4 separate regions of the Homo sapiens genome follow, and regions 2, 3 and 4 are each linked to region 1. Evidence: promoter capture Hi-C in human tissues and cell types (Jung and others, 2019). All regions are on one chromosome and are shown on one strand. The core of a region is centred on a gene start or on the middle of the fragment in contact, and the rest is flanking DNA. Distances in the headings are between cores, read along the strand shown.

Evidence for each region. The method cuts DNA at HindIII sites, captures the fragments that hold promoters and counts their contacts. A contact is called where the count stands out against the background at its distance.
Region 2: a contact is called between a fragment that was not itself captured here and the fragment with the promoter of TSPAN33 in region 1, in 2 of the 25 tissues and cell types used here (bladder and lymphoblastoid cells).
Region 3: a fragment that was not itself captured here is called in contact with the fragment with the promoter of TSPAN33 in region 1 in 1 of the 25 tissues and cell types used here (mesenchymal stem cells).
Region 4: a contact is called between a fragment that was not itself captured here and the fragment with the promoter of TSPAN33 in region 1, in 1 of the 25 tissues and cell types used here (lymphoblastoid cells).

What each region holds. Positions count from the first base shown.
Region 1 is chr7:129,143,457-129,148,314 of GRCh38, forward strand. It overlaps TSPAN33 (tetraspanin 33), which reads left to right and starts at 1,251. Exons shown (of 8, transcript NM_178562.5): 1 at 1,251-1,626. The coding sequence starts at 1,525. RefSeq lists a silencer at 1,164-1,373 and an enhancer at 4,236-4,285. The HindIII fragment of the contact is 23,252 bases long and covers 1-4,858 here.
Region 2 is chr7:128,974,299-128,979,156 of GRCh38, forward strand. It overlaps TNPO3 (transportin 3), which reads right to left. Exons shown (of 23, transcript NM_012470.4): 16 at 4,685-4,825; 17 at 1,521-1,637; 18 at 570-664. Among named protein-coding and RNA genes, the nearest start is that of IRF5, 39 kb to the left of the region's middle. The HindIII fragment of the contact is 5,983 bases long and covers 1-4,858 here.
Region 3 is chr7:129,285,743-129,290,600 of GRCh38, forward strand. The region is part of intron 1 of AHCYL2 (adenosylhomocysteinase like 2); the gene reads left to right. Among named protein-coding and RNA genes, the nearest start is that of AHCYL2, 63 kb to the left of the region's middle. The HindIII fragment of the contact is 6,345 bases long and covers 1-4,858 here.
Region 4 is chr7:129,011,437-129,016,294 of GRCh38, forward strand. It overlaps TNPO3 (transportin 3), which reads right to left. Exons shown (of 23, transcript NM_012470.4): 4 at 3,543-3,699. Among named protein-coding and RNA genes, the nearest start is that of TNPO3, 41 kb to the right of the region's middle. The HindIII fragment of the contact is 4,735 bases long and covers 1-4,289 here.

The DNA.
Region 1 (4,858 bases), core at 1-2,500:
TCTGATATTCAATTACTTCCGCAGTTTTAACACAATTCCACATGTAACGGCATCGGTCAGCATTATGTCCCACTGCTATTCCAAGCATACCCTGTGCTCCAGCCACAGCAGTCTGCTTATTTTGCACGAAACACATGGCGTGCTTTTGCACCTCCAGGCTTTGGTTCACCCCCTTTTTTTTTAATCCACCTGGATTATGTTTCCCCTCCGTCTCTACTATTCTAAATCCCATCCTCCCCTAATTTCACTTGCCACGCTATCTTCACTAACCTTCTACCAAACGTATTATAATTATTTGTGCGGTTATCATATTTCCACACTGGATTCTTAATTCTGCTAAAACGAAATACTGTAATGCCTTTGATGAGCCTTCCATGTGCCAGCCATGTGCTAAGTGAGCTACATGCATTATCTCATTTAATCCTCAAATCGCCATCTAGGTCAGGACTCTCCCATTTAACATTAAACAAACTGAGGCTCCGAGAGATTAAGTAGCTTGCAGCTTTCACGCAGCTAATTATGGTGGAATCAGATTCCCTCCCCGAGGTTCAACTTGTATTAGTTAGGGTAGCCAGCATAATATATTCGCCAGCTACGCTGCACTCAACCTGTGTGTGCCGGATCAGCATGTTAAAAACGGTGTCTGCAAGTAGACCAAGGGAAGAGGGGCTGCGGGGGCGGGAATTGAGACAGCAATGAATTAGGATGGCGGGATTGGCGGTGATGTTTCCAAATTTCCACTGTTGGGTTGTAGAGCTTCTGAAATAAGCATTTAAAATGTATAGTTACTAAACAAGATTGCATCTACCCTTGGTCTAATTGTTATGTGTAGGTTAGTTTTGTCTCCCTGATTTTATTGTCATCCCCCAGGGATTGTTTCTGTTCTCCCGCGTTCCCAGAGCTTTCGGCGCATTGCTCAACACACGGTGTGCGTACTTGTTGATTTTAATGTATGTGTGTTTGCATATGTGCACAGCAGCTGGGCGGAGGACGTGGGTGTGGGATGCACTGTGCATTCCTTCTCCTCACTCTTGTTCCTTTGAGCAGCTGCAGCCTGGATGCTTTCCCTTAGGGGTAGGGGAGAGGCAGAACCGCTGACCCTTTAACAAGTTATCCCTCACAGAACAGGTGTCTCCCCCGACTCTCGGTGGAGAGGGATGGCTGGATACTTAGTGACATCAGCCACGAGCCAATGGGAAGTCGGGCTCCAGCCGTCGCGCCAATGAGCGGCCGGGGGCGGGCCGGGTTTCCTGGGCGCCTGGCTGGCCGGGCTGGTCCTGCGGCCGCGGGTGAGTCTCGTCCGCTCGCGCTGCCCACCGCGGCTCCAGCAGCTCCAGGCGCGGTTCCCCGGCCCGCGCCGCTCCCGGCCCCCCGGCTCGGGCGCCTCCCGCCGCAGCGCAGGCTCCCCCGCCGGCCGGGCTCCTGCGCGGCGCGGCTCGGCTCATGCCCCCGGGCGCGGGGCACACAGGCCGGCCGGCAGCCGCTGGGAAATAGGCCCCCGGGGGCGGTGGCGGCGGCGGGGCCATGGCGCGGAGACCCCGGGCGCCGGCCGCCTCCGGGGAGGAGTTCTCCTTCGTCAGCCCGCTGGTGAAATACCTGCTCTTCTTCTTCAACATGCTCTTCTGGGTGAGTCTCGGGGTCGAGGGCACCTGGGCGGCGGGGTCCCCCCGCGGGGTGGAAGGGTGGCCCGGGGTGCCCCACGCGCGGGAGCCGCACTGCCGAGTTTTCTGGGCTGACGGCACTTTGGGGGAATTTATCCTGGGGAGGGACACCCCGGGGACGCCGCGTCTGCAGGGGGCGTTGTAGGGAGGAGGGTATGCCAGGGAATCAGTAAAGACTGATGGGTATTCTCGGGGCGTCGGAGGAGGGTCTGTGTTAGGCTAGAAATGTGGGTTTGAGGGAGCCTGTTGGCCCAAGGCGGACCCACTGACACATTCATGATGGGGGTCGGGGGTGGCGGCTGACTTTCAGGCCTGGGGGCCTGGAGGCCCGGCTGGCAAAGAAAGAAGAGGAAGGAAAAACCCAAACCTCTCTCTCCACCACCTCAGAGAGGATGGGTTACTGGCATCATCTCTTCCTTTTGCAGGCCTCATCTACCCCCACCTCCACCCCCCCAAAGTCTAGGAAGAATGGCCTCCAGGTGCAGATGTCTTTCCCATCCCAGCACTGCCCCAAACTTTGTCCCCTCCCTGCCACCCTTCTCAGGACCAGACTTCACCCCTGGAGCCTGGCAATCACCAGTGTCTTTAAACAGGACCCCGTGTTGGGCCGGAGGGCCAGGGGTCCTTTCAGAATCTTCTGCTTGGGGTGGAAAAAGTATTGGGCTGGGACTCCGGACACCTGGATTCCCATCCCACTCTGCCGTTCATTGTTGACTTGACCGACCTAAGCATGTATGTTCATGTCTGCAGGCCTTGACTCCCTCCCCCACAAATCCAACCCAGTGTGATCAGGGGTGGCAGAAAGACTGCTGAAGCTGAGAATTGAGCTGAACCAGATCATGCAATGCCAGCTCGACCCTGTTTCCTGGCTAGAGAGTCCTGGAGGTCCTGGGGTGTGAGAACATAGGGACATCCTTCCCCCATTCACCTCCTCTTCTGGCTCCTACCACACCAGAGCTGCTGCTTCTGGAGCCCACCATCCTTGCCCACTTCAGCTGGAGACCTAAAGTTCAGACTTGCAGGAGGGAAGAATTGAGTCTAAAATATGTTTCCTAGGGGAGGGAGCAGAACAGACATCTAAGCCATTTGCTGGAAAGGTTTCACAGGGCCCGTGGGGTGAGGTGCAGACACAAAGCCCATAAGTGCTGGCCTGTTGGGACAAATGAGAGAAATCCCATAGGGTGGTGATGACAGCGCACTCAGCCATCCTACTCCTGGGGAAAATGAAACTTGTGCTCCTATCAAATGCTCAGTTGTAAAACTGGAAAAAAATTTTAGAAGACATCTTGTCCAGCATCTGTGTTTATGTCTATAAAATGTAGAAAACTAAAGCACAGAGATGTTAAATGTTTTGTCCAAGGTCCAACAGCTGGTTAGCAGGCTTGGTCTGGTGACCTTTCTACTGAACCACAGTGCCGCTGGGGGAAGTCCTCAGCACAGATGGCTGCTGCTATAGCTGGGGTATGGGCAGTATTAGTAGTTAACCAGTCAACCCAAGTTCCCATAGTCTAGGTTCTGCTTCAGCTGGAGGTTAGGGAAAAACACAAGAAAATCCCTTACCACTCTACCAGTGCTGGGGGATGTACTAAGAGACTCCCCACTTAGGGGCAAGTATCAGTGAAGTCTCTGTGCTCACTGAGTGTGCCAGGCCAGTGACGTGACATCCTCGGAGCCAGCACTAGCATTTCAGGGACTTTAGGTCGTCACTCTGACTTCCTTTATCTGCCGAGACTGTCTCCCTTGGAGCCATTGGTACCTCACCCTTGTCTGTGCTCGCCAGTGACAACAGCTGGGTGCATCTGTTACACTTGTGTTCCTGGTCATTTTTTTTTTCTCGAGCTTCCCTACCCCCTACCTCCACCCTACCCCCCTTTTATCGGACAAACGACTTTGAGAGATCTCAGCCAGGAGAGAGTTTGGCTCCACAGACCCATTTACCTTGGTAAAAATGCTTCATTCAAGGTCAGAAGACGTGGGTGGCCAAGCTAGCACCACCCCAAATTAGAATAGAGCCCCTTCTTGGCCCTACAGTAGACTCATAAAAAATCAGAGGCTCTAGAAATAGCACACTGAAAGACAAGAGGCTCAGCATCTTTTTGGCACCAACTTACTGTGTGACCCTAAGCCAATGTATCTGTCTCTCTGACCTTAATCTTTCTCCTCTAAAGGAGAAACAATTTCTGCCTCAGTGAACTATTTAAGGATGAATGAATCATTTTGGGGACTGTTTTCTTTCTTCAAGACCTAGAGCTGGATCTAAGGATGAATCTCCCTGTGTCCTGATTGCCCTTCCTAGGGGACAGTACTTTTCAGGTGTTATTGAATGTCCCTTCTCCCCCAAACCCAGTGCTGCACAGGTATATTCATACAAGAGCAGCTGGAGAGAAAATGCTGCCTCCCCAGATCAGGGGGCCATCTTTCTTCCTAGCTCCTCTTCAGGGACTGGTTCCCATGCTTTCTTTTTTGTAGACTTCCACCATCCTAATCAAATTCTGCTCTTCTGCCCAGGAAGCACCTATGGATGAGATGATGGTCAGCCCACACCCTTTGCAGGCAGAGTGCATGCTCTGGCCGGCTTCTGGAGCTGCCGCATGGCAGTGGTTATTGTGTCTGTGCCTGGAACCCACTAGGAAGGTGTCCGGCATCCTCTGGGCTCTGAATAGTGGTGCTGGTGGTGATGGTGGCTACGTCTGCTGTTGCTCTAGAAGCCCTGACTCTTGGGGCATTTGGAGTCTGACTCAGAAAACTAATGAATTTTGGGGGACTGGGACCAGTTCCTACTGTTCATGTTTCAAATCTCACTTCCCCTTTGACCTGGGAGTTCTGATTTTCTTCCCAGAATCATGTTGCTGGGTTACTGACTGTGGGGATTCCATGGCCTGGAGTAGCTGCTCTAAGATCCTAGATGTTGCATTTAAATCAGTTAGGGTGGCTACAGAGCAGCTGCCTCTCCTCACCTCCCTCTGCAGGACAGCTCCGTGCAGATATTGGGGTGGTGCCTGCTTTCTCAGCTTGGCCATGTGTTGTCAGGAATATTCAGTGCCGCCCACCTCCTTCCTCGCTGGTCCTTTTCCCACTCAGGGCAGCAGTTGGCTGGCTTTTGAGTCAGGCAGAGCCCAGAAGCTCAGACCTCCAGCCCCTGTGTCTCAGCCCAGGCTTCCCTAGCAGCCATGCCTCAGGGCTCCCATGGCACCTTC
Region 2 (4,858 bases), core at 1,322-3,821, 170 kb before region 1:
TTTTTTTTAATGCTGATATGGTAACAGTTTTGGTTCAAATTCCTTAGTTAGGGACTAAGGAATTCAAGCAGAAGTTTGGCAATCATATTATCAGTGCTACTGATAAAGTAGGCTGTGAGTAGAGCTGAGAAATACAGTATGAGATAACTGCTAAGGCATCTTAAAATCCCAAACATTCTTTATTCCGAAACTGATTATATCTAAAGGATGCTAAGCTTCTCAAAGAGAAGGTTGAGGTGAAACATGAAATCGCAACAGCACGAACAGTTAAAACCTACAGAGGACTGTAGAGATGATCTAGTCAAGTGTTTTGCCAGGCACACTGCATTGTCTTGTGTGTGAGCCCTCCTTCCTGGCAGGAACTCAGCTCCTTTATCCCTTGCTTCCCGCAATACTCTGCGTCACTGCTGGGGATATATCAGCTTGCAATTTACCTTTGGGTTATGAATCATTAATCTACTTACTCCAGTGACTTCATTTTACAAGAATAAAACAACCAAGGGTCAGATGGCAAGACTAAGCAGTGATAGGATGAGCAATTAAGAAATGGGCTCTTCAGAAGGATTTACCTGGTGGCTAGCCGGAACAGGTCATCTACAGTGTCAGGGTGATTCTGGAGACCATTCTGCTGTTCTAGGAGCTGAAAGGTGGGGATGCACAGTGCCTAAAACAAAACAGTGATTTTAAAAGAAATGCTTTTTCAGAAATGCCACAGCATTCAGACTTGCCAAATATTTATTACAATAAGTACAAAAGGAACAAAGAAGAAAAGCACAGCTGGGAAAAGAAAAAGATTGTAATGAGAATCTGATCAGGAAAAGAAACACATAAATCCTTCCCAGTTGACATAAACAGTTTTCACCTATGAAGTCCACATTTAAGAAAGGGTTGAGAAAACAGATTTTAGCTGATAAAACTCAACAGATGTCATCTCAAAGTTTTAGAAATTTCTGAAAGCAAAGATTCTATTTAGGTATAGTCCACTAAGGGAGTGGAAGTTTTTATAATAATTATGAAATATCAATTTTAAATGAAAAGACATCTTGGGAAAAGAAACAACATTCTTCAACTCAATATTCCCCTCTGTGGCTGGAAGGGAGGGAAAAGCAGTATCTGAGGAGCTGTTTCCAATGCTATTATTAATTCTAAAACCCTCCCTGCTGCTAAGTAAACTAGTCAGTTGGCTGTTCCAGGCAAGAAGTTAAAAATACAATAATGCTTGAGCTTAGAGATTCATTTTTCTCACCTCCTCCCCCCTCCAAACACCCTATCTCTGGAAGAGCATAAACCAGGCAGTAACATGTAATAATCATTACACTCATGTGGTCAGTCTCTCATTCTCTCAAACAGGCCTGTTCAGAGAACAACTGGGAAGCTTCCACCTCCCTGTTATTAGGAAATCAACATGCCTGGGGGAAAACATAAAGAAGCAACAGAATTAAAGACATGGTAAAGAATACGCTGCTAGGCCTTCAGACCCTCTAGGCCTGATGCGTCTACACTCCTCATGGAAAAGATACCTGGAGCATGTCTAGCAGTCCCTGCCGACAGCCTTCTTCCATGCCATATTCATCCACAAGGATACTGCCAAGGTACAGGAAGCAGGAATGCTGATGTACGTGGTACACATTCACCATCTGTTGAGGGAAAAAACAATTAGTTCAATGCTTCGTCCTTCAAAAAGTACCAACTTACGAAGCTGTCTCCAGGAAGAAATTCAGAGATAGATTGGCTTCTTCTCTTTAAGGCAACATAGTATAAAGCTTCTTAGCACTATTTTGTGAAACACAGGGCTCAATATCTCAATGATTTTCAGGTTCTCTATTCTTCCAACCCTTTGACCTTTCATCTTCCCAAGACAATGCTGTATAAGAGTTAAAGCTAGAAGCTATCAGGGAACTCATGGATTATTTGCAAAACCCCAGCACAGAATATTTCATCCAGTACGTAAAAGTTGCTCTCATTTGCACTGTAGATAAGTCATACTTTTAAATAGGATATATAGCCACAGTTGGGAAAACAGTATCAAACACCTTCATCTTGGAGAAGACAGTGAAAGCATTGTTTAAATTTTGAGTTGCTCCTAAACCTATTTTATCTTTTAAGTAAAAAATAGTGTTTTCTACGAAGATATTTGGATTTCAACACAGCAAAAATTTTAACACAATATGCACATTATTATTTTTTTTTTAAGAGACTGGGTTTCGCTCTGTTGCCCAGGCTGGAGTGCAGTGGTGAGATCTTGGCTCACTGTGGCCTCAACCTACCAGGCTCAAGGGATCCTCCCACCTCAGCCTCCCGAGCAGCTGGGACTATAGGTGTGCACCACCATGCCCGGCCACGATATGCGCTTAAATGATTTGTTTAGAATTTTTACTCCACTATCCTCCCAGAATTAAGAAACAATTGTACACTCACCTATTTAAAATGCCACCACAGTACATATGTATTGATCTTATTACATAAATTCAACTCTATGAACTTGGGACTGAAAGGATACAGTAACTTAATTCTTCTGTTGGCATATGCCATGGAATGAGCATGAGATGGGAGCTATGAATCCATTCCATGTTGTAAACTCAAAATTATATGCTCTACTAAGGAATGATTAAGTCAAGGGTTGCCAAACATTTTCTTAAAGGGCTACTTTGTAAAAAGTATAGATCTTATCCACCATTCAGTCTTCTGCCCACTCAAGTTTGCCAGTGTAGCACAAAAATGACCAATAGATAATACGTAAATGAATTATGGCTATAGCTCAGTAAAACATTAAAAAAAACACAAAAACAAAAATAGGTGGCAAGGCCACTGACTATCAATTGCTGGCTCCTGAGTTAAGGGATTTTTTAAGGATAATTTTCATTTTTGTCACATGTACTGACTCTAGAACACACTTCCTATATAATAGTGCTACCTACTCTATTGGGTTAGTCATATACTTAACTGGCAGGAATTAAAAAACAGTATCAAAGTCATGAGGGTATCCTCCAACAGCAAAGGGGCAGTCTATCAAGTTGTAGTAGACCCAGAATGTATTGCACTGAAGGGGACACTTGACCAGAGGTGGCAATCGCCTAAATGCGAACATACATTATTGTGCTCAGCATATAGTGAAAGTAGAGAAATCACTAAAAATTAAAATTCTGTTGAAATATTTACCTGTACAATCTTTAATCAAATCTATAATTTAGAGAGGCAAGGTTATCCAAGTACCAACACCGCACCAGCATGCCTGTGCCTGTGGTTGAGGGCACCTATGATGCAGAATTTAAGGGGGAACTCATTCTTTTTTTCTTTTTTCTTTTTTTTTTTTTTTGAGATGGAGTTTCACTCTGTCACCCAGGCTGGAGTGCAGTGGCACGATCTCAGCTCACTGCAACCTCCACCCTCCGGGTTCAAATGATTCTCCTTCCTCAGCCTCATGAATAGCTGGGACTACAGGCGCCTGCCACTGCGCCTGGCTAATTTTTTGTATTTTTAGTAGAGATGGGGTTTCACCATCTTGGCCAGGCTGGTCTTGAACTCCTGACCTCGTGATCCACCCACCTCGGCCTCCCAAAGTGCTGGGATTACAGGCGTGAGGCACTGCACCTGGCCAGGGGGAACTCATTCTTAAGGCCAGGACCTCCTTAAAATCTGCACCCTAGGTGCTCTCCTCTCCCTAGGTGGAGCATGGTCACTTCAGGTTGGGTGGGGTATGACTCTAGCCTGGAGCTCTGTGACTGTTTTCCTCACAGCATGGGTACAAAATTTCAGAAAGCACCTCAGAGTCCTGCAAATGCAGGATTGGCACTTTGCCTTGTGTCCCTAAATCTTGTGCCCTAGGCACTGGCATCCTGGCCCTGCTCTAAGGTTAACATCAACACAATTACTTAGTGACTTAAGCATAGGCATCTCATACAGTTCTAGATGAGAATATGATTTTAGAGAACATCATTTAGTGAGTCATACCATCATAATTACATATCAATCTTAATGACTAAAAGAGTCAAATTTATTTTTTGACAAGAGACTTCTGTGGACAACTAACTGTGGCCAAGATTGAAGAAAATCCCTTTGGGCAAAGAAACAGCAAAGTCTGACTTGCTACATTTTTTCCCCAAGGATCTCAATATAAAAATGCTTACCATTAGTATATAAGTACTGAGCCCAAGTCATTCGCTTCACAGAATTTCACAATGGACTGTGTTGCTACTTAGAATACTGCTATAGCTACTATACAGAAGCGATTTTAGGCTGTTTCCCTTATAGACAATGTACCTATCACAGGCACTAATCTCTTTCAAGTGTTTTTTTAGTTTGTTAATAAATACAAAAGTGTTTCATTTCATCAGCAAAGTTTTTGTTCTAAAGGCTCCTATTTCAAATTCTTTTTTTGAGATGGAGTCTTGCTCTGTCACCCTGGCTGGAGTGCAGTGCAGCTCCTGGGTTCAAGCGATTCTCCTGCCTCAGCCTCCCGAGTAGCTAGGATTATAGGTGCCCGCCACCATGCCTGGCTAATTTTTGTATTTTTAGTAGAGACAGGGTTTCACCATGTTGGCCAGGCTGGTCTTGAACTCCTGACCTCAGGTGGTCCACCTGCATAGGCCTCCCAAAGTGCTGGGATTACAGACGTGAGCCACCGCACCCTGCCTATTTCAAATTCTGTACATGGAACACGTCCCCCCGCAACAGATAACTTTACCTGTGTGACTAGTGGCTGCAGCAGTGCTGCAGATCCTTTGCCTACACAGCGAACAGCAAAGCGCAGGCACCTGCAACAACGCTCTACAATCCGATTATCAGCTCGGTGCTTATTTAGAGTCTCGGATAAAACTGGCCATATCTGGGTCAAAAGTAAAAGAGCACAAGAAAGAAA
Region 3 (4,858 bases), core at 1,667-4,166, 140 kb after region 1:
AGGTTGCAGTGCAGTGGCACGATCTCAACCTCCACCTTGCTAACTGCAACCTTCACCTCCCAGGCTCAAGCAATCCTCCCACCTTGGTCTCTTGAGTAGCTGGGACTATAGGTGTGTGCCACCCCACCCAGCTAATTTTTGTATTTTGTGTAGAGGCAGGGGTCTCTCTTTGTTGCCCAAGCTGGTCTCAAATTCCTGAACTCAAGTAATCTGCCCACCTTGGCCTCCCTAAGTGCTGGGATTAGGGGCATGAACCACCATGCCTGGCCTAAATCCTCTATTTAAACCAGGGCCACCTTCCTACCCCCAACCTCCACCAAAAAGAAATTTTAGTTATATCAAACCAACTAGTTTTAGGTCACAGTGTCTTTCTTTGGAGGGTGAAAATGAAAGAATTGAGGCTACACAATATAAAATGAAATGGTAATGTGAGCATTAATTAGAATTATAGGTGTTTTAGAGCAGTAGTTCTCAAACTTTTTTGTCTCGGGGCCCTTTACACTCTTTATTTTTTATTTTTTTGTGTGAGATGGAGTCTTGCTCTGTTGCCCAGGCTGGAGTGCAGTGGCGCAATCTCAGCTCACTGCAACCTCTGCCTCCCGGTTTCAAGCTTCTCTCCATGAGACTTGCCTTGGCCTTTTGCTTTTTTACCTTTACCTGGTTTTCAAAGACAAATATAAATATGAGAGGAGGGGAGTTAGTTTTTTTGTTTGTTTGTTTGTTTTGTTTTGTTTTGAGACAGGGTTTCACTCTCATCACCCAGGCTGGAGTGCAGTGGCATGCGCTTAGCTCACTACAACCTCCACCTCCTGGGCTCAAGTGATCCTCCTGCCTCAGCCTCCCGAGTAGCTGGGACCACAGGCACATGCCAGTGTGCCTGGCTAATTGTTTGTATTTTTAGTAGAGATGGGTTTCACCATGTTGGCCAGCCTGGTCTCCAACTCCTGACCTCAAGTGATCCACCTGCCTTGGCCTCCCAGAGTGCTGGGATTACAGGGGTGAGCCACCACTTCCAGCTCCTTTACACTCTTAAAAATTAAGGATCCCAAAGAGTTTTTGTCTCTGTGGGTTATATCTATATCAATACTTACAATGTTAGGAATTAAACCTGATAATTTAAAAATATTGATTGATTGATTGATTTAAAATAGCTATAAACCCGCCATGTGTTATTTATTTTAAATGGAGACATTTAATAATATTTAAATATTAATAAATTGAAAATAATAATCCCACTATATGTTAACATAAATAATATTTTCATGAAAAGTAACTACATTTTCTAAAACAAAGACATTTAATGGGAAGAAAAGCATTGTTTTATATTCCTGCCATCTCTTTGATGGCCAAATTCATAAAAAACTGTTGGATTCTCGTATCTGCTTTTGCCTTATCTGATGTGTTGCCACACATCTTGTATCCTCTGGAAAACTCCACTGTACACTTATAAAATAATAAGAGTAAAAAGAACAAATATAATCTTAGGGTTATCATGAAAATACTTTTAACCTCAAGCACCCCCTCCAGGGATACCTCAAGTAGTTTCTGGACCATATTTTGAGACCACTGTTCCCAAACTGTTTATGTGTGAGAAAAGAGAAACACAAGAGTTATCACCATTACTTCTACAGCAGATTTTTCCTTGTGTTTAATCAGTACTGGCTGTTTAGCCTAATTAAGCAGTATAACATCCAGACTCCAGAATTGAAGTGGGTGGTATAGCTGAAAACTCCAAGCACTGTACCGGGAGTAAGTCTCAGTTTAATGTGCTTTTTAAAAGTAGTTGTTGTTCAGTGTTTTTGTAGGCTATTGCTAACCAGTGGGAGAGGAAAGTTAAGGCAGCTCTCTGGGAAAGAAAAACCAAGGAATTTTAGAGATTAAAAATGACCTTTAAAGATAATCTGGTCATCGAATTTTAGACTATTGGATTTGAAAGTCAGATGCTGAGAGGTCATCTAATCCAACCCTTAAGCTTTTTAGTGATTATAATTAGTACTTGTGATACACAGGCTAAGTTCTTTATGTAGAGCTCCTTCTCCCCACGTCATTTTGATGTTTACTGTTTCTTTTGAATGTTTTTTATAATGGAAAATGTCGATCATGTACTCCATTACTCACCTTCAACAATTGTGAATTCATGGCCACTTGTTTCACATATAGCCCTGTCCACACCATCCACTCCCTGGATTATTGGATGCAAATTGAAGAATTTTATAGCTTCACCTGTAAACATATCACTATATCTCTAAAGATAAAGACCTTAAATAACTTCAATTCCATTATCATGCTAAAAAATTAGCAATAATTTTTAATAGCATAAAAACCCAATGTTCACATTTCCCTCATTGTGTTATTCATAAATGTATATTTTTTCAGTATGTTTGAATCAGGATACAAATGAGTATCATATAGTGCAGTTTATTGATTTGTCTCTTAACATTAGTCCTCTCTTCTCCCCTGCTTTTTGTTTTGCAGTTTTTTGTTGTAGAAATCAAGTCATTTGTGTTGGCAGAATTTCCCTGAGTCTGAATTTTGCTGATTACATCTCTGTGGTGTCTTTTAACGTGTTCCTTTGTCTTCTGCAACTCCTGTAAATTTGTATTTGTATTTATTTTAATTTAATTTTATTTTATTTTATTGAGACAGAGTCTCGCATCACTCAGGCTGGAGTGCAGTGGCGTGATCTCGGCTCACTGCACCCTCCACCTTCTGGGTTCAAGCGATTCTCCTCCTCAGCCTCCTGAATAGCTGGGATTACAGAGGCCCGCCACCACGCCTGGCTAATTCTTGTGTTTTTAGTAGAGACAGGGTCTCATCATATTGGCCAGGCTGGTCTCGAACTCCTGACCTCAAGTGATCTGCCTGCCTCAGCCTCCCAAAGTGCTGGGATTACAGGCGTGAGCCACTGCGCCTGGCAGTACTTCTATTTAGAAGAGTGCTCAGACTTCTTCATGAGTGGTGTTAAGTACTTCCATCAGAAGGTACATAAATGTCTGCATGTCTTTTTTGTTTTAAAATTTTATCTATTTATTATTATTATTTTTGAGACAAGGCCTTGTTCTGTCACCCAGGCTGGAGGTGCAGTAGCATGATCATAGCTCACTGCAGCTTCAACCTCCTGGGCTCAATTGATCTTCCCACCTCAGCTTCCTGAGTAGCTGCGACTGCAGGCATGCACCACCACGCCTGGCTAATTTTTGTTTGTTTGTTTGTTTATTTTGTAGAGATAGAGTTTTACCGTGTTGCCCAGGCTGGTCCTGAACTCCTGGGCTCAAGCCATCTGCCAGCCTTCGTCTTCCAAAGTGCTGGGATTACAGGTATAAGCCACCACAACGGGCCTATTTTAATTTTTATTTTACTTTTTTGAGTCAGGGTCTTGCTGTGTCACCCAGGCTGGAGTGCAGTGGCACAATTACAGCTCACTGCAGCCTCAACCTCCTGGGCTCAAGTGATCCTCCTGCCTCAGCCTGCCTAATAGCTAGGAGCACAGGTGTGTGCCACAATGCCTAGCTAATTTTTAAATTTTTTTTGTAGAGATGGGATCTCACTATGTTGCCTAGGCTCGTCTTGAACTCCTGGGTTCAAGCAGTCCTCTTGCCTTGGCCTCTCCGAGTGTTGAGATTGCGGGCGCAAGCCACCTCGTCCAACCTGTCTCTTTTTGTGTGATGTTAGTAACTATTGATGATTTTTACTTAGATCCATTAAATCATTAAGAGCTATACAATGATGATATTCTAGTTCTATTATTCTTTCATTTATTAGCTGGAATACTTCTATAAAGAGAAACCTCCCCTTTTCTAATCTTCGATTTACCCAGTGGTATAATACATATTGGAAAGTCAGGATGAATATTTTGTTCTTTCCCCTTGTTTACCAATTTTCAGAATACTGTATTGGTTCACTAGCATTCTCCAATTAGGCATTGGTTTTGGTGGGGGTTTTTTTGGTATCATAAACTCTTGGGTTTAAACATTTTTGAATATGTTTCAATTCATTGCATTTTTTTCCTTTTCTAGTGATTTTACTGATATATTTCTTCTTTCTTTCTTTTTTTTTTTGAGACGGAGTCTTGCTCTGTTGCCCAGGCTGGAGTGCAGTGGTGCAATCTCAGCTAACTGCAACCTCCGCCTCTAGGGTTCAAGTGATTCTCCTGCCTCAGTCTCCTGAGTAGCTGGGATTACAGCCATGCACCACCTCGCCCAACTAATTTTGTATTTTTAGTAGAGATGGGGTTTCTCCATGTTGGTCAGGCTGGTCTCGAACTCTTGACCTCAGGTGATCCTCCCGCCTCGGCCTCCCAAAGTACTAGGATTACAGGCACCATGCCCAGTGGCATATATATTTCTTCTAATAAACTCAGCTTGATGATGAGGACGTGTCTTAGACATCTTTCTGTCCATGGTGCCTAGTGCGTGGCTTTCAATAAATGTCAAATGAATGAGTTGATATTCTGAGCAGCATTTAAAAATAAGAGCTAGTGGCTGGGCACGGTGGCTCATGCCTGTAATCCCAGCACTTTGGGAGGCCAAGGCGGGCGGATCACGAGGTCAGGAGATGAGACCATTCTGGCCAACATGGTGAAACCCTGTCTCTACTAAAAATACAAAAATTAGCCGGGAGTGGTGGTGGGTGCCTTTAGTCCCAGCTACTCGGGAGGCTGAGGCAGGAGAATGGTATGAACCCGGGAGGCGGAGCTTGCAGTGAGCTGAGATTGCGCCACTGCACTCCAGCCTGGGCGACAGAGTGAGACTCTGTCTCAAAAAAAAAAAAAAAAAGTTTTGGAGGCATGACAGAGGAGCAAAGTCCAGTATTACTTTCCTGTGTGAGCTGAAGAAAGTGCAGTATAACAGTAAAAAAT
Region 4 (4,858 bases), core at 672-3,171, 130 kb before region 1:
GGGTTCAAGCAATTCTCCTGCCTTGGCCTCCCGAGTAGCTGGGACTACAGCTGCATGCCACCACGCCCAGCTAATTTTTGTGTTTTTAGTAGAGACGGGGTTTCACCATGTTGGCCAGGATGGTCTCGAGCTCCTGACCTTGTGATCTGCCAGCCTTGGCCTCCCAAAGTGCTGGGATTACAGGCATGAGCCACCACGCCCAGCCTGTAAAGAATATCTTAGGACCAACTGGTGAAATGTGAATATGGTCTGGGTTTATCAGATGATATGAAAACTTACTAACTTGAAAAGGTAAGCAGATGACTGAAAAAGCAAGATGCAGAAGAATAAGTAAAGTATAACTTCATTTGGGCTTAAAAAATCTGTATATATATCCATAAATATGTTCATAGAGGATATGTATTAAAGGGTTAACTGTATGATCTCCAGATGGTTTGAGTGAAATTTGCTGTACATATTTTCTAATTTTCCATAAAACTATTTCTTTAAAATAAATGGCTAAGTGAAAAACATATATTTAACTTAAAAGAATTATTTTTCAATGAATTTCTTTTTTCTTTTTCTTTCTTTTTTTTTTTTTTTTTTTTGAGATGGAGTCTCCCTCTGTTGCCCAGACTGGAGTGCAGTGGTGCAATCTTGGCTCACTGCAACCTCCGCCTCCCAGGTTCAAGAGATTCTCCTGCCTCAGCCTCCCGACTAGCTGGGACTACAGGAGTGCACCACCATACCTGGCTAATTTTTGTATTTTTAGTACAGACAGGGTTTCACTATGTTGGCCAGGCTGGTCTCAAACTCCTGACCTCAAGTAATCCACCCGCCTCAGCCTCCCAAAGTGCTGGGATTACAGGGGTGAGCCACTGCACCCAGCCCTCCAATGAATTTCTAATACAAAACTGAACACAATTTTTAATAGAATTTTAATTTTTTTTCAAACTAAAAGATCTATGAACTTGCTATACTGAAACACATCTCTGAAAAATAATTTACTACAGGTTAAGTATCCCTAATCCAAAACTCCAAAATGCTCCAAAATCCAAAACTTTTTGAGTGCCAACATAACGCTCAAAGGGAATGCTCACTGGAGCATTTCAGATTAGGAATGCTGAACCACAAAGTATAATGCAAATATTCCAAAATTTTAAAAACTCAGAAATCCTAAATACTACTTTTTTTACCCTACCCTAAACCCTTCTGGTCCCAAGCCTTTCAGTAAGGGATATTCAACCTGTATCCACATTATTGAGAAAATTAAGCTGGACTATAAAGACTTAAAAATGAGATATGGGCTAATCAATTTATTAGCATCTACTTTAGGAACCAGTAAACATTTTCTATAAAGAACCAGATAAACCGTCTACACTTTGCAAGCCATATGGTCTCTGAAAAATACTCAATTATGCTGATGTAGACCAAAATAATGGACAAAATATAACCAAATGGGCATAACTGTGTTCCAACAAAGCTTTATTTACAAAAAGAGGCAGCCAACCCATAAACTATAGATTTACACACTCCTGCTCTAGAGTATTAAAAATGTCAACTAACTGAAAGGAGCTTAATCACATCTAATTTTTTAAAAAATGTGTATTAGCTCATCCATAATGCGATACTCCTCAAAGGTCAAGTAAAATCTTCTATCACCTTTCAGTTCATCTTTAAGAGACAATCCTTTCTTTTATCTCTCATAATATACAAAAATCAAATCAAAATGGATTAAAGACTTAAATGTAAGATGTGAACTATAAAACTACTACAAGCAAACATTAGGGAAATGCTGCAGGACATTGATCTGGGCAAAGATCTCTTAAGTAAGACCTCAAAATCAAAGGCAACTAAAGCAAAAAAAGTCGACAAAGGTCAAGCTAAAAGGCTTCTGCACAGCAAAAGAAACAATCAACCAAGTAAAGAGACAACCTACAGAATGGGAGGAAATATTTGCAAACTACCCATCCAACAAGAGATTAGTAACCACAATATATAAGAAACCCAAATAATAGCAAAAAAAAAAAAAAATTAAAAATTAAAAAATGGGCAAAAGATCAATAGCAAATGCTGGCAAGGATGCAGAGAAAAGGGAACGCTCTGGAATGTAAAGCAGTACAGTCATTATGAAAAACAGTACGGAAGTTTCTCAACAGACTGAAAATAGTACTACCATACGATCTAGCAATCCCACTGCTGGGTAAATACCCAGAAAAGAAACCAGTATATCAAGAAGATCTCTACAATCCCATGTTTATTGCAGCACTATTCACAATAGCCAAGATATGGAATCAACCTAAGTACCTATCAACGGCTGAATGGATAAAGAAACAATGGTATAGGTGCACAATGAAATATTCGTTAGCCACAAAAAGAATAAAATCTCCTGTCATTTGCAGCAACATGGACGGCACTGTTAGACATTATGTTAAGTGAAGTAAGCCAGGCACAGAAAGACAAATATCACATGCTTTCACTGCTATGTTGGAGTGAAAAAAAATGGATCTCATAGAGGTAAAGAGTAGAATGACGGTGATCAGAGGCTAGGAAGGGTAACGGGGAGGGGACGACCAAGAAAGGTTGATTAACGGGTACACAAATACAGCTGAATAGAAAGGATACGTTATAGTGTTACACAGCAAAACAGAGTGACTATAGTTAATAATTTATTGAGTACTTCAAAATAGCTGAAAGAGAAGATTTAGAATGTTCCCTACACAAAGAAATGATAAAGGTTTGAGGTGATGGATATCTCAATTTGATCATCACCTGATTTGATCTGATCATCACATATTACATACTTGGACAAAAATAATACATGTCACTGGGCACAGTGGCTCACGCCTGTAATCCCAGCACTTCGGGAGGCCAAGGCAGGTGGATCACTTGAGGTCAGGAGTTCGAGGCCAGCCTAGGCAACATGGAGAGACACCATCTCTACAAAAAATAAAAAATTTAGCTGGGCATGGTGGCGCACACCTGTAGTCCCAGCTACTCAGGAGGCTGAGGTGAGAGGATCACTTGAGCCCAGGAGGAGGAGGGTGCAGTAAGCTGAGATCATGCCACTGCACTACAGCCTAGGAGACAGAGACCCTGCTTCAAAAAATAAAAGTAATACATGTAACCCCATAAATATGTACAACTATCATGTATCAATTAGAAAAAAAAAGAAAGGATCCTTTCTTAGTAAAGTAGATTTATACACACTTCCCTTTGCATGATCCTTTATTAACAGCCAACAGTTTGGAGCATTAAGCAGTAGAAGAGCACAAGATAAATAATGAGATGGCCTTAGTTCCAATTCTGAATTAACAGTTGTGTAACTCTAAAGTCCATTTTTCATTCATAAAAGAGATAACGTCACCTTTAGAGGATTATACAGAAACTTAAAAAGCATAGTTTCTGAAAGTATGTTGTCATGGTAAGGTGTTACATAAATACCAAAGCATCATCATTAAATTTTGCAAAGAAAGCTATTTCACAATAATGCAATTGATTACAAAATAACCGCCATGGCTTTCTGCCTTTATGCAGCAACTTAGTATTTCAAACTTACTCACCAATAGAGATACTACTGTACTAGAGTAGAAGGCCAAATCTTCTATAATTTCTGTGCGCCGATTAGCTCCAATTCGTAAGGAACGACTATGTACTTCTTCAGGTAACACTGTAAGGATCTCCAGCAAAAAAGGCAAAGAAGTCACATCATTGCTGTATCTGCAAAAGAAAAAAGTGGAGATATGTTATTTATAGCCAGAAAATACACAATCACATAAGATAACAGCCATCAGAGTAACTCACAACAACAAAAGCAACATTCCCACCACTGTTAAGGGGGAGAAAAAAGATACAAACATAAATGTCCTCCATAATTAGTTAAGATTAAAAAAAGGACACAGTTATTCAATGAAACATAGCCATTATAATGAACATGATATCTATATGTCCTAACATGAAAAAAAGTCCATAATGTAGTAAGTGAAAAACATGTATGAAACATATTGAATATGGGTGAACAAATATATAGGTATATGTACATTAAAATATATATGCACTTATTTATTTTAAAATGCATAAAGGAAACTCTACATAGCCAATTGTTAATAGTGGTTGCTTATAAAATACAGGGTTAAGGGCCAGTTGTGGTGGCTCATGCTTATGATCCCAGCACTTTGGGAGGCCAAGGCAGGAGGATCACGAGTCCACAAGTTCGAGACCAGCCTGGGCATCACAGGGAGACCGTTTCTACATTCAAAATTTTTTAATCAGCCAGGCATGGTGGTATGCATCTGTAATCCCAGCTACTCGGGAGACTGAGGCAGAAGGATCTCATGAGCCCAAGAGTTGCAGGTTCCAGTGAACCATGATCACACCACTGCACTTCAGCCTGGGTGACAGAGTGAGACCCTGTTTCAAAAATAAAATATAAGGATAGGGAGAGAGGACGGGGTTCATTTTGCACTTTGAAGGTTTCCATACTGTTAGAATTTTTTCAAGGAGCATGTATCAATTTCCCCAATAAAAATTTTATTTAAAAAATAAGCTATCCACTCAGGAGGCTGAGGTGGGAGGATCACTTGAGCCCGGGAAGTCGAGGCTGAGGTTGTAGTGAGCCATGACTGTGCCACTGCACTCCAGCCTGGGTGAAACAGCAAGACTGTGTCTCCAAAAAAATAAAAATAATTTTTAAAAAAGTTATCCAAGCTGGATGAGGTGGCTCACGCCTGTAATCCCAGCACTTTGGGAGGCCGAGGTGGGCAGATCACTTGAGGTCAGGAGTTTGAGACCAGCCTGGCCAAACCCCGCCTCTACTGAAAATATAAAAATTAGCCAGGCGTAGTAGCACATGCCTGTAATCTCAGCCGCCTGGGAGGCT